Linked DNA regions of Homo sapiens: region 1 is linked to region 2. Evidence: promoter capture Hi-C in human tissues and cell types (Jung and others, 2019). All regions are on one chromosome and are shown on one strand. The core of a region is centred on a gene start or on the middle of the fragment in contact, and the rest is flanking DNA. Distances in the headings are between cores, read along the strand shown. Region 1 has its middle 21 kb from the start of LNCPRESS1. Region 2 holds the start of MUC17 (mucin 17, cell surface associated).

Region 1 (6,361 bases), core at 703-3,202, 260 kb before region 2:
CAGCAGACCCTCCTGCATGCACCTTTCCAGAAGGCTCTTCCCAGCATTTTCTTTCTTTCTTTCTTTCTCTTTCTTTCTTTCTTTCTTTCTTTCTTTCTTTCTTTCTTTCTTTCTTTCTTTCTTCCTTCCTTCCTTCCTTCCTTCCTTCCTTCCTTCCTTTCTTCCTTCCTTCCTTCTTTCCTTTTTTCTTTTCTTTTCTTTTCTCTTAAAAAAAATGGAGTCTCACTCTGTGGCCCAGGCTGAAGGGCAGAGTGGCACAATCTCTGCTCACTGCAACCTCTGCCTCCCAGGTTCAAGCGATTCTCCTGCCTCAGCCTCCTGAGTAGCTGGTACTACAGGTGTGCGCCACCACACCCAGCTAATTTTTGTATTTTTAGTGAAGACGGGGTTTCACCATGTTGGCCAGGATTGTCTCGATCTCGATCTCATGATCTGCCCGCCTCGGCCTTCCAAAGTGCTGGGATTACAGGCATGAGCCACCCCACCTGGCCTTCCCAGCCTTTCATAAGGAGTTATCTCTTCCCAGAAGTCTCCCTCCACGCTGCGAGTCTGTGTTATGTCATTCTCTGAGCTTCCATGGGGCCCAATGAGCCCCTGTCACACCACTTAGCGTGCTGGAGTGCCTGCCTGCCTTCTCAGATGGAAGCCCCATGAGGGTAAGCACGTGTCAGCCTCACGCATGCATATCCCCAGCACCTCGACGCTGTGCTTGGCACCCCATAGGGCTCAGTAAGGATTTTACTAAATATGGCCAGGTACAGTGGCTCACACCTGTAATCTCAGCACTTTGGGAGGCCATGGTGGGAGGATCGCTTGAGGCCAGAAGTTTGAGACCAGCCTGGGCAACATAGTGAGACCCCATCTCTTCAAAATATTAAAAACTTAGCTAAGTGTGGTGGCGTGGCCTGTAGTCCTAGCTACTCAGGAGGCCAAGGGTGGGACAGTCGCTTGAACCCAGGAGCTCAAGGGTGCAGTGAGCTATGATTGTGCCACTGTACTCCAGCCAGGCTGACAGAACGAGATCCTGTTGCTGCAAAAAACTGACTAAATGTGTGAATGAAGGAATGAATGTGTTCACTGTTCCCTGAGGAGGGTCTGCAAAAGCCAGTACATGTCCTTCCACCCCCTTTCCTCCCTGTTCACTGGGTGCCTCTCATTGTCTCCCAAGCCTCTGCAGACACATCCCAGGGAACAGTGCTGCTGAAGGACTAGTTCTGTTCCTTGTGATGGTGGAAAGAAATGGGATTTGGGCCAGGCACGGTGGCACACACCTGTAATCCTAACACTTTAGGAGGCTGAGGCAGGAGGATTGCTTGAGGCCAGGAGTTTGAGGCCAGCCTGGGAAACATAGTAAGACCCCCATCTCTACAAAAAACAAAGATTAGCCAGGTGTGGTGGTGCATGCCTGTAATCCCAGCTGCTCGGGAAGCTGAGGCAGGAGGATAGCTTGAACCCAGAAGGTTGAAGCTGCAGTGAGCCGTGATCACGCCAGTGCACTCCAGCCTGGGTGACAGAGTGAGACCCTGTCTCTAAAAAATTAAAAAAAAAAAAGAGGCCAGGCACAGTGGCTCATGCCTGTAATCCCAGCACTTTGGGAGGCCGAAGCGGGTGGATCATGAGGGTCAGGAGTTTGAGACCAGCCTGGACAATATGGTGAAACCCGTCTCTACTAAAAATACAAAAATTAGCCAGGCTTGGTGGCACACACCTGTAAGCCAAGCTACTTGGGAGGCTGAGGCAGGAGAATCCTTCAACCCAGGAGGCGGAGGTTGCAGTGAGCCAAGATCACGCCACTGCACTCCAGCCTGGGTGACAGAGCAAGACTCCATCTCAGAAAAAAATAAAAATTAAAAATAAATAAATAAATAAGAGAAATGGGATTTGGAGTGAGGCCAACCCAGTCTCAGTACCGACTCTACCACTTACCAGCTGTACATGTGCCTTATTTTCTCCATTTGCAAAGTGCAGAAAACAGGACCAAGCTTGCAGGGTTGCTGTGAGACATCGCCTGCCAGCCTGACACGTGGTAGGCAGTCATTAGATCAGGGTCTTCCTCCCTCTTTCCCAGAGCCCCCACCTAAGCTCCCTCCCCTCTGGAACCTTGGGACACACACACACCTGTAATCTGAAATAGCAGCTGCTACTTCCCTGACCCTCCTCTGACCCCCAAGGTTGCCCTGTCCTCTATCCCCCCACAGAGTAGTGCCAGGCACAGAACAGATGCTCCAAAGATATGAAAAGAATGAAGGAATGAACGAAGCAGCCACCACCACAGTTTCTCATGGGGCGTGTTCCCCAGAGGCCACGAGCCTCTTTTTTTTTTTTTTTGAGACAGATTCTCACTCTGTCACCCAGGCTGGAGTGCAGTGGTGTGATCTCGGCTCACTGCAACCTCCGCCTCTGCCTCCTGGGTTCAAGTGATTCTCCTGCTTCAGCCTCCCAAGTATCTGGGACTACAGGCACACACCACCATGCATGGCTAATTTTTGTATTTTTAGTAGAGACGGGGTTTCAACATGTTGGCCAGGCTGGTCTGGAACACCTGGCCTCAGGTGATCTGCCCGCCTCAGCCTCCCAAAATGCTGGATTACAGGCGTGAGCCACGGCGCCTGGCCTGGGCCTGGATTCTTGTACATGGCATTAGGGCACCCCTGTGAGTTGCCCCAAGGATCACATGTGCACGACTGTGTCATCTGAGCAAACTCCCCCAAAGGGTGTCTGCATTCCCCACAGCCATTGCTGGTGCTAACAGGACAAGTTCCAAAAAAGAAAAGCTTTTAAAAATGTTTTATTGATTTATGTTTGATTTTTGGTAGAGATGGGGTCTTGCTATGTTGCCCAGGCTTGTCTTGAACTCCTGGCCTCAAGTGATTCCCCTGCCCCGCCGCACCTCAGCCTCCCAAAGTTCTGGGATTACAGGTGCGAGCCACAGTGCCCAGCCTGAAATCACTTTCTAAATTTGCCCTTTTCATCATGTTTTCCTCTTGTAACCGTTTTATGTCACGTGTACCCTGAGGCCCCCTGACAGCCCCCCTTGGGTCCCCTCTGCAGCCTCTTGTGTTATATGTGATCGGAGCACCCCCAGAGCTTCGTCATCCGTGACGAGCACCCGCCCTCTCTCCAGTGGGAATCATCAGCTGATGAATAAGGGCTGATTTCTTCTCAAATGATCACCACCCCCAATTCATTACATTCCAAAGACTGAGCTCAGAATGGCTTATCTGATGCTTGGTGCGGTTGTGCTTTTTTGGAACGCCGTTCATTGAGGACGCAGGTTCTCTCCCGTGTGATGCTCTTGGGCGCAAGCTGTGACGTGGGTTCCACGCTATTCTGTGCCACGTCCTCCCCTGTGATTTTCGCATCTCCGATAACTGCTTGCCTCCGTCTGAGGATTTTCCTCCGCTGGTGCCATTCATTGGGAGTCTCTCTAGTATGAATTATGAGATGAATGGAAATTTTCCCTCATTCATAATATTCAAAGCTTTCCTCTGCCCTGTGAATTCTTTGATATTCTTCCAGAATCCTGACCAAATATTTTGCCATGTGTATCGGGCCAGTAGAGTTTAGGCTTAGAGTCTGCAATTTCCCCAAAGTGGTAACTTTCTTTTTTTTTAAGAGATGGGGTCTTGCTCTGTTGCCCAGGCTGGAATGCAGTGGCATGATTATAATTCACTGCAGCCTTGACCTCCTGGGCTCAAGTGATCCTCCCATCTCAGCTTCCTGAGTAGCTGGGACTACAGGCACACATCACCATACCTGGCTAATTTTTTTTTTTTTTTGAGACGGAGTCTTGCTCTGTCTCCCAGGCTGGAGTGCAGTGGCATGAACTCGGCTCACTACAACCTCCACCTCCCGGGTTCAAGCGATTCTCCTCCTGCCTCAGCCTCCCAAGTAGCTGGGACTACAGGTGCGTACCACTATGCCCAGGTAATTTTTTGTATGTTTAGTAGAGATGGGGTTTCACCATGTTAGCCAGGATGGTCTCGATCTCCTGACCTCAAGATCCGCCCGCCTTGGCCTCCCAAAATGCTGGGATTACAGGTGTCAGCCACCGCGCCCGGCCCCATTGAGGAATTTTAAAATTCCATTTGCTGGAAGAACCAGCCCGTTTTCTGTCTGTTACATGGCTATCTTGAAATAGTCCTGCCTGGAATTGCTTGAACCTGGGAGATGGAGGTTGCAGTGAGCTGAGATCGTGCCACTGCACTCCAGCCTGGGTGATAGAGCGAGACTCCGTCTCAAAAAAAAAAAAAAAAGAAAGAAAGGAAAAAGAATAAGAAAGAAATAGTCCTACCTCCACAGTCCCTTCTTCAGCCTGTCAAAGCCAAAAAGTTTCCCAAGATCCTAAGTCTAGTAGGCAAGAAACACTTCCAATCCCTATTAAAGCCATGTTCATGAGGGAACTCAAGTTTTCTACCCACAGGCACTGGAATTTCTGCTGTGGGAACTGGGGGACGTTCTCGAGCCATGGAAGCCTTGAGGCCGTTCGGACTCAAGAATGTGATGATGCCCTCAGTTTCGTGAGTCTTGTATTCTGGTTTATTTCTGCTCCACTATGTCTGAGGCCTCCTGTTCTCGCAGCAGCTATTGGGGCTGAAATGTCCAAAGTGGCTTTTGCAGTCACGTGACTGGTGCCTCATGTTCTTCCACTTGGTCTCTCTTCCCGACAGAGCAGCCTTGTTGTCTAGTACAGTTATTGGGCTCTGAGAACCCTCTATGGATGCCCTAGGCCATTGCACCATCACCTGTGCTACCCCTGGCCCCTCCATGGAAACCGCTGCCCAGGCAGCTGTGTGACACCATGTGACCCTGCCTCTCTTCCACCCACCAAGTCCCCAAATATACAGTTCACTGGACCAGGATCCCATATAGGCTGGCCAATGATTTTTGAAGTCATCTGGCTCAAAAATTTAGGGAAGTCACCCAGGCCAGCCAATTCCCTTTTGGAAACTGGGGCGGAAAAAGCAGACAGTAGAATTAGTAAGCCACAAGATGTCCTGAGGGCAAGTAGGGCCTGGTCGGACCAGTGTGCTGGCCGAAATTACACTGGAGAAGAAACTTGGCCGTTGAAGCAAAACCAAAATCAGCTATACCATGGAGAAAATCCCCTCATTGTGGAGGGAAAATGAGCTTGGCTTTGGCAAGAGGATAAAGGAGGAGAGGGTGACAACAGAGTTGGGACTCCACAAAAGGCCGAGACAAGCCAACCCTGGGCTGCCTTCTGCCTGTGGGTGTCACTGCTGCCAGTTTGCCGCTCGTTCCCTTGGCTGTCAGTTGGCTTAAAAGTGGGCAGATGACTTAGCTGTGCTGGTGAAACATATGGGGATTCCCGGCCCATGCAGCATGCCGTCCCACTTGCCAGGAGAGGTGGCTCACGCCTGTAATCCCAGCACTTTGGGAGGCCGAGGTGGGCGGATCACCTGAGGCCGGGAGTTCGAGATCAGCCTGGCTAACATGGTGAAACCCCGTCTCTACTAAATATACAAAATTAGCAGGGCATGGTGGCACATGACTGTAATCCCAGCTACTCAGGAGGATGAGGCTGGAGAATCACTTGAACCTCGGAGGCGGAGGTGCAGTGAGCCGGGATGGCGCCACTGCACTCTAGCCTGAGTGACAGAGTAACACTCCGTCTCCAAAAAACAAAAACAAACAAAAAAACAACAAAAATTAGCTGGGCGCAGTGGCAGGTGCCTGTAATCCCAGCTACTTGGGTGGCTGAGGCAGGAGAATCACTTGAACCCGGGCAGCAGAGGTTGCAGTGAGCTGAGATCACGCCACTACATTCCAGCCTGGGCAATAGAGTGAGACTTTGTCTCAACAACAACAACAACAACAAAAGTATGGGGAGATGGCTGGGATCTGGACCATCTTGAGACCATGAGGCAACAAGACCAAGGGGAAAAGCCCACACACTAAGGATGGCAGAGCCTACGTCCTCTATGAGAGCGTTGAGCCACCATACCTATCCTGGACCCCCCACTTCCAGTCTCTGATCTGTAAGTCACGTGTCTTTATTTTCTAGGCAGATTTCTGCTATTGCAGCCTAAAGCATCCCTCACCCCTTCTCAGAAACCCGTGGCTCTTGCTATAACTCCCAGTGGAAAATCAACCTAAGTTTAGACATTAGAAATGGAATTATTGCTTATATGGAAGGAATAAGAATCAGGATTGGTCCTTGCCTACAGAGGAATCCCAGCTCTGAGTCCTAACCCCAAGGCCTAGGGGACACAGACAAGGAAAGAAAGAGATATCTGGGAAAGTTCCAGACATCTTCTTTTTTTTTTTTTTTTTTTTTTTTTTTTTTTTTGTCTCACTGTCGCCTAGGCTGGAGTGCAATGGCACAATCTTGGCTTACTGC
Region 2 (6,236 bases), core at 354-2,853:
AGGGTCTGAGAAGTCACATTCTACAAAGGCAGACTGAGGCTAGGGATGAAATCAATGATAACACGCAGAAAGTGGGGAGAGGCCAGGAAGGGGCCAAGGAGAGGTGGGGAGAAGAAGAAAGAGAAGAGAGGGGGAAGGAAGGGGCTAGAAGAACCCAGGAAGAGGGAAGGGAGGAGCAGAGAGAAAGAAAGGAGGGGGCCAGGAGCGGTGGCTCACCCCTGTAATCCCAGCACTTTGGGAGCCCAAGGTGGGAGGACTACCTGAGATCAGGAGTTTGAGACCAGCCCGGTTAACATGGTGAAACCCTGTCCTTACTAAAAATATACAAAATCTAGCTGGGCATGGTGGCATGTGGCTGTAATCCCAGCTACTCAAGAGCCTGAGGCGGGAGAATCGCTTGAACCCGGGAGGCAGAGGTTGCAGTGGGCTGACATCACGCTACAGAACTCCAGCCTGGGTGACAGAGCGAGGCTCCGTCTCAAAAAAAAAAAAAAAAAAAAAAGGAGGAGACAGAGGTGAGGGTTGGGGAGGAAAACAAAAGATCATGTCTAAGATGCTGTTATTAGAGATACATCACCAAGGGTCTGGAAGGCACAGAAAGTGCAAGGAAAGGAGTGTTTTCATTACAACGAATGGGCTGGCAGATCTGGGTGAGATTGCCACAGGGTGACATCTCGAGGGGCAGGGACCCTGAGGTCTATGGGTCCAGTTTCTGTCTTGGTTCCCCTGCGCCCTTCTCTGGGGGCAGGTGAGGGGCAGAGGGAGCTCCCAGAGAGTCCAGCTGGAACCCACTGTCATCCCTCCTGCTCTGAGCCCCCCGGGGTCCCTGTGGCCATGAAGCCCAAAGCGGCTGAGCTGGAATGATCCTCAGAGGTCCTAATGCCTTGTCTTTTGGGGAGACTGAGGCAGGAGATGAACTGAGCGGCCCCAGGGTGCACAGCTGGTTCATGGCAGGATTAGAATCTGGGGCTCCTGAAACGCCATTTTGTGCCCATGTGGCTATGTCCCGGAAACATTCCTGGGGCACACAGCAGGGTGTGCTGGTGTGGGAGGTGACAGGGACTTGGCGGGAACATTCACTGGGTAAGGATAGACTCTAATATGGGTTGAACACCAGTCTTGTGCCAGGGATCATGCCTCGGGGGGGGAGCTCTTTTCAATCCTAGCAGCTGCCCTGAAAAGCAGGTGTTATTATTCTTACTTTCCGGAGGGGAGACTGAGGCTCGGAAGGGGAAACTAAGGCTCAGAGACCTCAACTGGAAGAGGCTCCAATGCCCTGGCTCTTCCCCCAAAGCTCGCTGGGGAGAGAAGAGAAGTCCAGGGGGTAGGCACAGGGCTGAGCTCCAGGCAGAGGGCACACCCCTATTGGTGTCCTGGAGGCAGCTCTCCCTCGGGGATGGGCAGACAGAGCAGGCTGGCCCCTGGGATGGGGGCCTCTTGGGCAGCGGGGCGTGGGGGTCACTCACCCTGTTCTGCAGCAGCTTGTGGGGGCAAGAGCGAGAGGACCAAGGTCAGCAGACACAGCGCCATGGTCCCTGGCCTTGGCATCGGAGCTCTGAGCACGTCTCACTTGCCTGTCACCCCCAGAGGAGCTGGCGAAATGAGCCTCAGAGAAGGAAACTGATAAATAAATGGGTGCCAGAGACCTTTGGTCCCTGAGACACTGGGGATCAGGGGCCAGCCTGAGCCTGAGTCAGTCTGGAAGCTTCCCTCATGACTTGGGGCGCAGGGCCTGTTTCAGGCCAAAGGGCAGAGGGAGGGGGTGCCTCTCCCTGGCCCGGCAGCCCATAGGCATGAGGGTTATCAGCTTTATCACCCCAACAGAGGGGCAGCCCAGAGGGCCTGTAGGAGCCAGGGGGGAACTGATGAGATCCCCCGACCGAGGGTGGTGGGAGATGGGCAAGAGGGACTGGGCCTGAGCTGGGAAAGGAGGAGGGTACCACCTGCATTTGACCCTAACCCCTAGCAGGGACACCCCCTTTGTCTCTTTTCTAACCCTTCTTATTGGCCGGGTATGGTGGCTCACACCTGTAATCCCAGCACTTTGGGAGGCTGACGCGGGAAGATCACTTGAGATGAGGAGTTTGAGACCAACCTGGCCAACATGATGAAACACCATCTCTACTAAAAATACAAAAATCAGCCAGACTTGGTGGCGGGCGCCTGTAATCCCAGCTACTCAGGAGGCTGAGGCAGGAGAATCGCTTGAACCTGGGAGGCGGAGGTTGCAGAGAGCCAAGATCGTGCCTCCGTACTCCAGCCTGGGCAACAGAGCAAGACTCTGTCTCGGCAAAAATAAATAAATAAAATAACCCTTCTTATTGTCCTATGAGTATGCCCTGAAGACATGGCCATGCCTGGGCAGGGAGTTCTTGGGTTTGGTCTGTGGGTTCCGAGGTAAGCACAGCTCCCATGGCCATCTGGAGTGACCCTGCCTTGTGCAAGCTCAGCAGAGCCAAGTGCTCACTCCCTGGCCAACTGGGGTTGAATCTGAGGTCCTCTCCTGTCCCCAGAACCTGACATTAGGCTTTTCTGCCACAGGGACCTCAGCAGAGGCAGGCCTAGACCTGTCCTGACTGGAGCCGGGGAGGGGGCTCCCTGCAAAGACACAGGAAGGGGCCCAGAGCATTCGTTCCATGCCCCATTCAGCAGCCAGTCCTGGGAGAAATCCCATCCCAGGAGGGCTCTGACCCCTAACCTGACCCCAACTGCAGAAGGAGGAGAAGGAAACCTCTCACTTCTCATTCTGAGCTTTCAGATTTGCTTTTATTGGTAGGGAAATTCCAGAGTGGGGAGCCACCCAGGAGGAGACAGGGGTGCCGAGGCTTCTGGGAGTCTGGAAGCTCCCGGATGGAGAGGCTTACAGCCCCCAGCCTTCCCCAGCAGGAGCACAGGCAGGGGACTGGCCAAGTCTGTCAGCTCAGAGCAGGACCGGCTTCAGGGCCTGACTTCGGTCTCCTCTTGACCCGCCCCGGAGGCTTGTGGTGGGCTCTGTGTTTGCAGCTCTCCTGAACAGAGCTAGATGAGGGTGGGAGGCCCCCGTTGGCTCACACAGTGGATGCTACCATCTCCGGCCTCTGGATGTGGAGCTGGGGGACGGGAGAGAAGAGGTGAGGCCAAGGGGCAGACCCGGGAAAGGGGGAGCCCCAGGAGGAAGAGGGAGCCCTGGCGGGGAGGAGGGAACCCCAGGGGGAGGGAGGGAGTCCCAGGGGGAGGGAGGGAGTCCTAGGGAGAGGAGGGAGTGGCGGGGGAGGGGGGAGTCCCAGGGGAAGGGGTGGCCCCAGGGTGAGGAGGGAGTCCTGGGGGAGGAGGGAGTCCCAGGAGAAGGGAGGGAGTCCTAGGGGGAGAAGGGAGTCCCAGGGGTAGGGAGAGTGTCCCAGGGAGAGGGAGGGAGTCCTAAGGAGAGGAGGGAGTCCTGGGGGAGGAGGGAGTCCCGGGGGAAGGGAGGGAGTCCCGGGGGAAGGGAAGGGGTCCCAGGGGGAGGGAGGGAGTCCCAGGGGGAAGGGAAGGGGTCCCAGGGGGAGGGGAGGGAGTCCCAGGGGGAAGGGGAAGGGGTCCCAGGGGGAGGGAGGGAATCCAGGGGGGAAGGGAGGGGTCCCAGGGGGAGGGAGGGAGTCCCAGGGGGAAGGGAAGGGGTCCCAGGGGGAGGGAGGGAGTCCCAGGGGGAAGGGAAGGGGTCCCAGGGGGAGGGAGGGAGTCCCAGGGGGAAGGGAAGGGGTCCCAGGGGGAGGGAGGGAATCCCAGGGGGAAGGGAAGGGGTCCCAGGGGGAGGGAGGGAGTCCCAGGGGGAAGGGAAGGGGTCCCAGGGGGAGGGAGGGAGTCCCAGGGGGAAAGGAAGGGGTCCCAGGGGGAGGAAGGGAGTCCCAGGGGGAAGGGAAAGGGAAGGGGTCCCAGGGGGAAGGGAGGGAGTCCCAGGGGGAGAAGGGAGTCCCAGGGGGAGAAGGGAGTCCCGGGGGAAGAGGGAACCCCAGAGGAAGTGGAGCAGCCTCAGGGGGTGGGGGCAGCTCGCAGCTGAGTCACCTCTGTGCCAGAGTCAACAGTCTCCAGGGTGGGCCGGAAGTTGTTGTAGGCGTTCTCAAGGCCGAATCTGCTCTCCCTCAGATTCTGGTCTGTAGGGAGAGGCCGTGATGAGTGATGGGAGCCTTGGTAGGGGGAGGACTAGGGGGCAGAGGGGATTTCCTCTGGCAAAAGGAAGAGTCAGCCCGGCATCTGCCCTACGCCCTTTCCCACTGCCGACCACCCCTCCGACCCTGCATCACTGGGCTGCGGGTAAGTGCAGAGCCTGCCTGGGGAGCCGCCCGCTGGACCCCGGAACAGGAGGGAGCGGAGCAGAAGCCCCCCACATGCACGGGGTGGAAGCGGGGGCCACGGAGGAGCGTGCGTTCAGCCCTGGACTCAGGGGTGAGGTCAGAGTGGAGCGGGAGACAGGGCTGGCTCTGGGTCAGCAGGGCCGCCCTCCTTCATAGCAACGGTAACCATAGCAGGCAAAAAAGCTGCGTCTGGAATCTTCTTCCAGCATCCTCCCGGAGCACAGCGATCACTTACTTCCTGGTCCCGCAGAACCACTCACTCTCTGGACTCCGGGGCTCTCCCTGCACCTCTGACCCCTCTTTTCCTGCGTCCTCCTAGATCGGGGTCCTCATGCCCTACCTGTCCTTCTACGGGGGCTCCTGGGGGGGGGTTCTCCTTTCACCCTCCTCACTTCTCACTCTGCATTCTCCCCGATGAATGGACAAACCTCTATTCCAGTACGTGGTTCAGGCTGCAGACCCCTCCCGGAGATTCAGACAGGCACGAGCCTTGCAGCCTCCTCCTCAGCACCCACCAGCCCCCCAACTCAGTGTGCTCCACCGGCTGCTTCTCCCCCATCCTTCGGGGCCCAAGGGTCAGCTCGGACAATCCCGGAAATCCTCCCTCACTCCCTCTCCCTCTCCCACCCACTCAGCCTCATCTCCACCAGGCTGCGTCTCCTCTCCCTCCCCCCACCCCCTCAGCCTCACTTCCTCCACCTGGTCTCCCTGCTTTAGTGCTCCCTGAATGGCCTTTTGAGTAAAAAAAATTCAAAATGTGACCGGGCATGGTGGTTCACGCCTGTAATCCCAGCACTTTGGGAGGCCAAGGCGGGCGGATCACCTAAGGTCTGGAGTTCGAGACCAGCCTGGCCAACATGATGAAACCCTGTCTCTACAGTCTCTACTAAAAATACAAAAATTAGCCACGCGTGGTGGCATGCCTGTAATCACAGCTACTAGGGAGGCTGAGGGCAGGAGAATCGCTTGAACCTGGGAGACAGAAGTTGCAGTGAGCCAAGATTGTGCCACTGTACTCCAGCCTGGGTGACAGAGTGAGACTCTGTCTCACAAAAAAAGGTGGGCGGCCAAAGCCCCTCAACCCCCCACCCCATTCCCAAAGCCCTGCCAACCTCACGTCCCTCACTCTTTCTTTGTGAGATTGACCTGCCTTCCCTTCCCCGCCAAAAGCAAGCTCCTTCCCAACTGCAGGCGTTTCTCATGCAGTGCCCCCTGCCTGGGGTGCCCTTTCCCTTGTCCTCACTGGGATAAGGCCTCCCTGCTTACTGGGCTCCCACTGTGTTGAAGGAGGAAGCACACCTGCTTACTCACCTATTCAAGAGTCAGTCTCACCTGGGGGCTAATCTGACCCCCTATCCCCACCCAGGCTGGGTCAGGTCCACCCCTCTGCTCCCTCTGCCCTGGGAATGGCCCTATCACCCCGCTTAGCTGAGTGTGCACTGGATGCCCTCACTGAGTTGGTCTCTGGGGGCAAGATCTGGTTCTCAACCACTCCTGCACTCTTGCACACAGCAGGGGTGGTGTCTGGGTCCGGGGCTGCAGCGGCAGGTAGGGAACGGGCTGTCAGTCACAGCCACCCCAAAGGGGGGCTGGACCCCACGTCACCCCCACAGGCACAGGCACCGCCCTGCCTTTCTTCACCCTCCAGCTCTGCTCATCTCCTTGCCCTTAACTAGAGGTACCTTCCCAGATGGCCGTCTTCTGGAAGATGCCAGGGGTGCCTTCCTTTCGCCACTCTTGAGGCACATCATACTGTTCCCTGCAGACAGAAATGCCTTGAGCAGCTGTAGGCAAGGAGGCTGAGGAGGGACTTGGTGGACCCTGACCTTCAGCTTCCCTCGAGGGGACAGTCACAGCCACACCCCGAGTCAGAGATGGCAGCGATGATGGCAGAGAACAAAAAGTAGCATCACCATGGCTTCCCTT

What was found. Contacts are between HindIII fragments. The study calls those that stand out against the background at their distance.
Region 1: a contact is called between a fragment that was not itself captured here and the fragment with the promoter of MUC17 in region 2, in 4 of the 25 tissues and cell types used here (IMR-90 fibroblasts, bladder, heart left ventricle and 1 more).

Annotation. Positions count from the first base shown.
Region 1 is chr7:101,275,586-101,281,946 of GRCh38, reverse strand. No RefSeq gene overlaps it. Among named protein-coding and RNA genes, the nearest start is that of LNCPRESS1, 21 kb to the left of the region's middle. The HindIII fragment of the contact is 6,351 bases long and covers 1-5,127 here.
Region 2 is chr7:101,015,448-101,021,683 of GRCh38, reverse strand. MUC17 (mucin 17, cell surface associated) reads right to left here and starts at 1,603. Exons shown (of 13, transcript NM_001040105.2): 1 at 1,467-1,603. The coding sequence starts at 1,548. It overlaps MUC12 (mucin 12, cell surface associated), which reads right to left. Exons shown (of 12, transcript NM_001164462.2): 10 at 5,993-6,069; 11 at 4,021-4,109; 12 at 2,748-3,089. The coding sequence ends at 3,048. MUC12-AS1 (MUC12 antisense RNA 1) reads left to right here and starts at 4,076. Exons shown (of 3, transcript NR_120520.1): 1 at 4,076-4,269. RefSeq lists enhancers at 2,703-2,852, 4,043-4,192, 4,263-4,312, 5,745-6,236 and a silencer at 2,902-3,196. The HindIII fragment of the contact is 20,706 bases long and covers 1-4,124 here.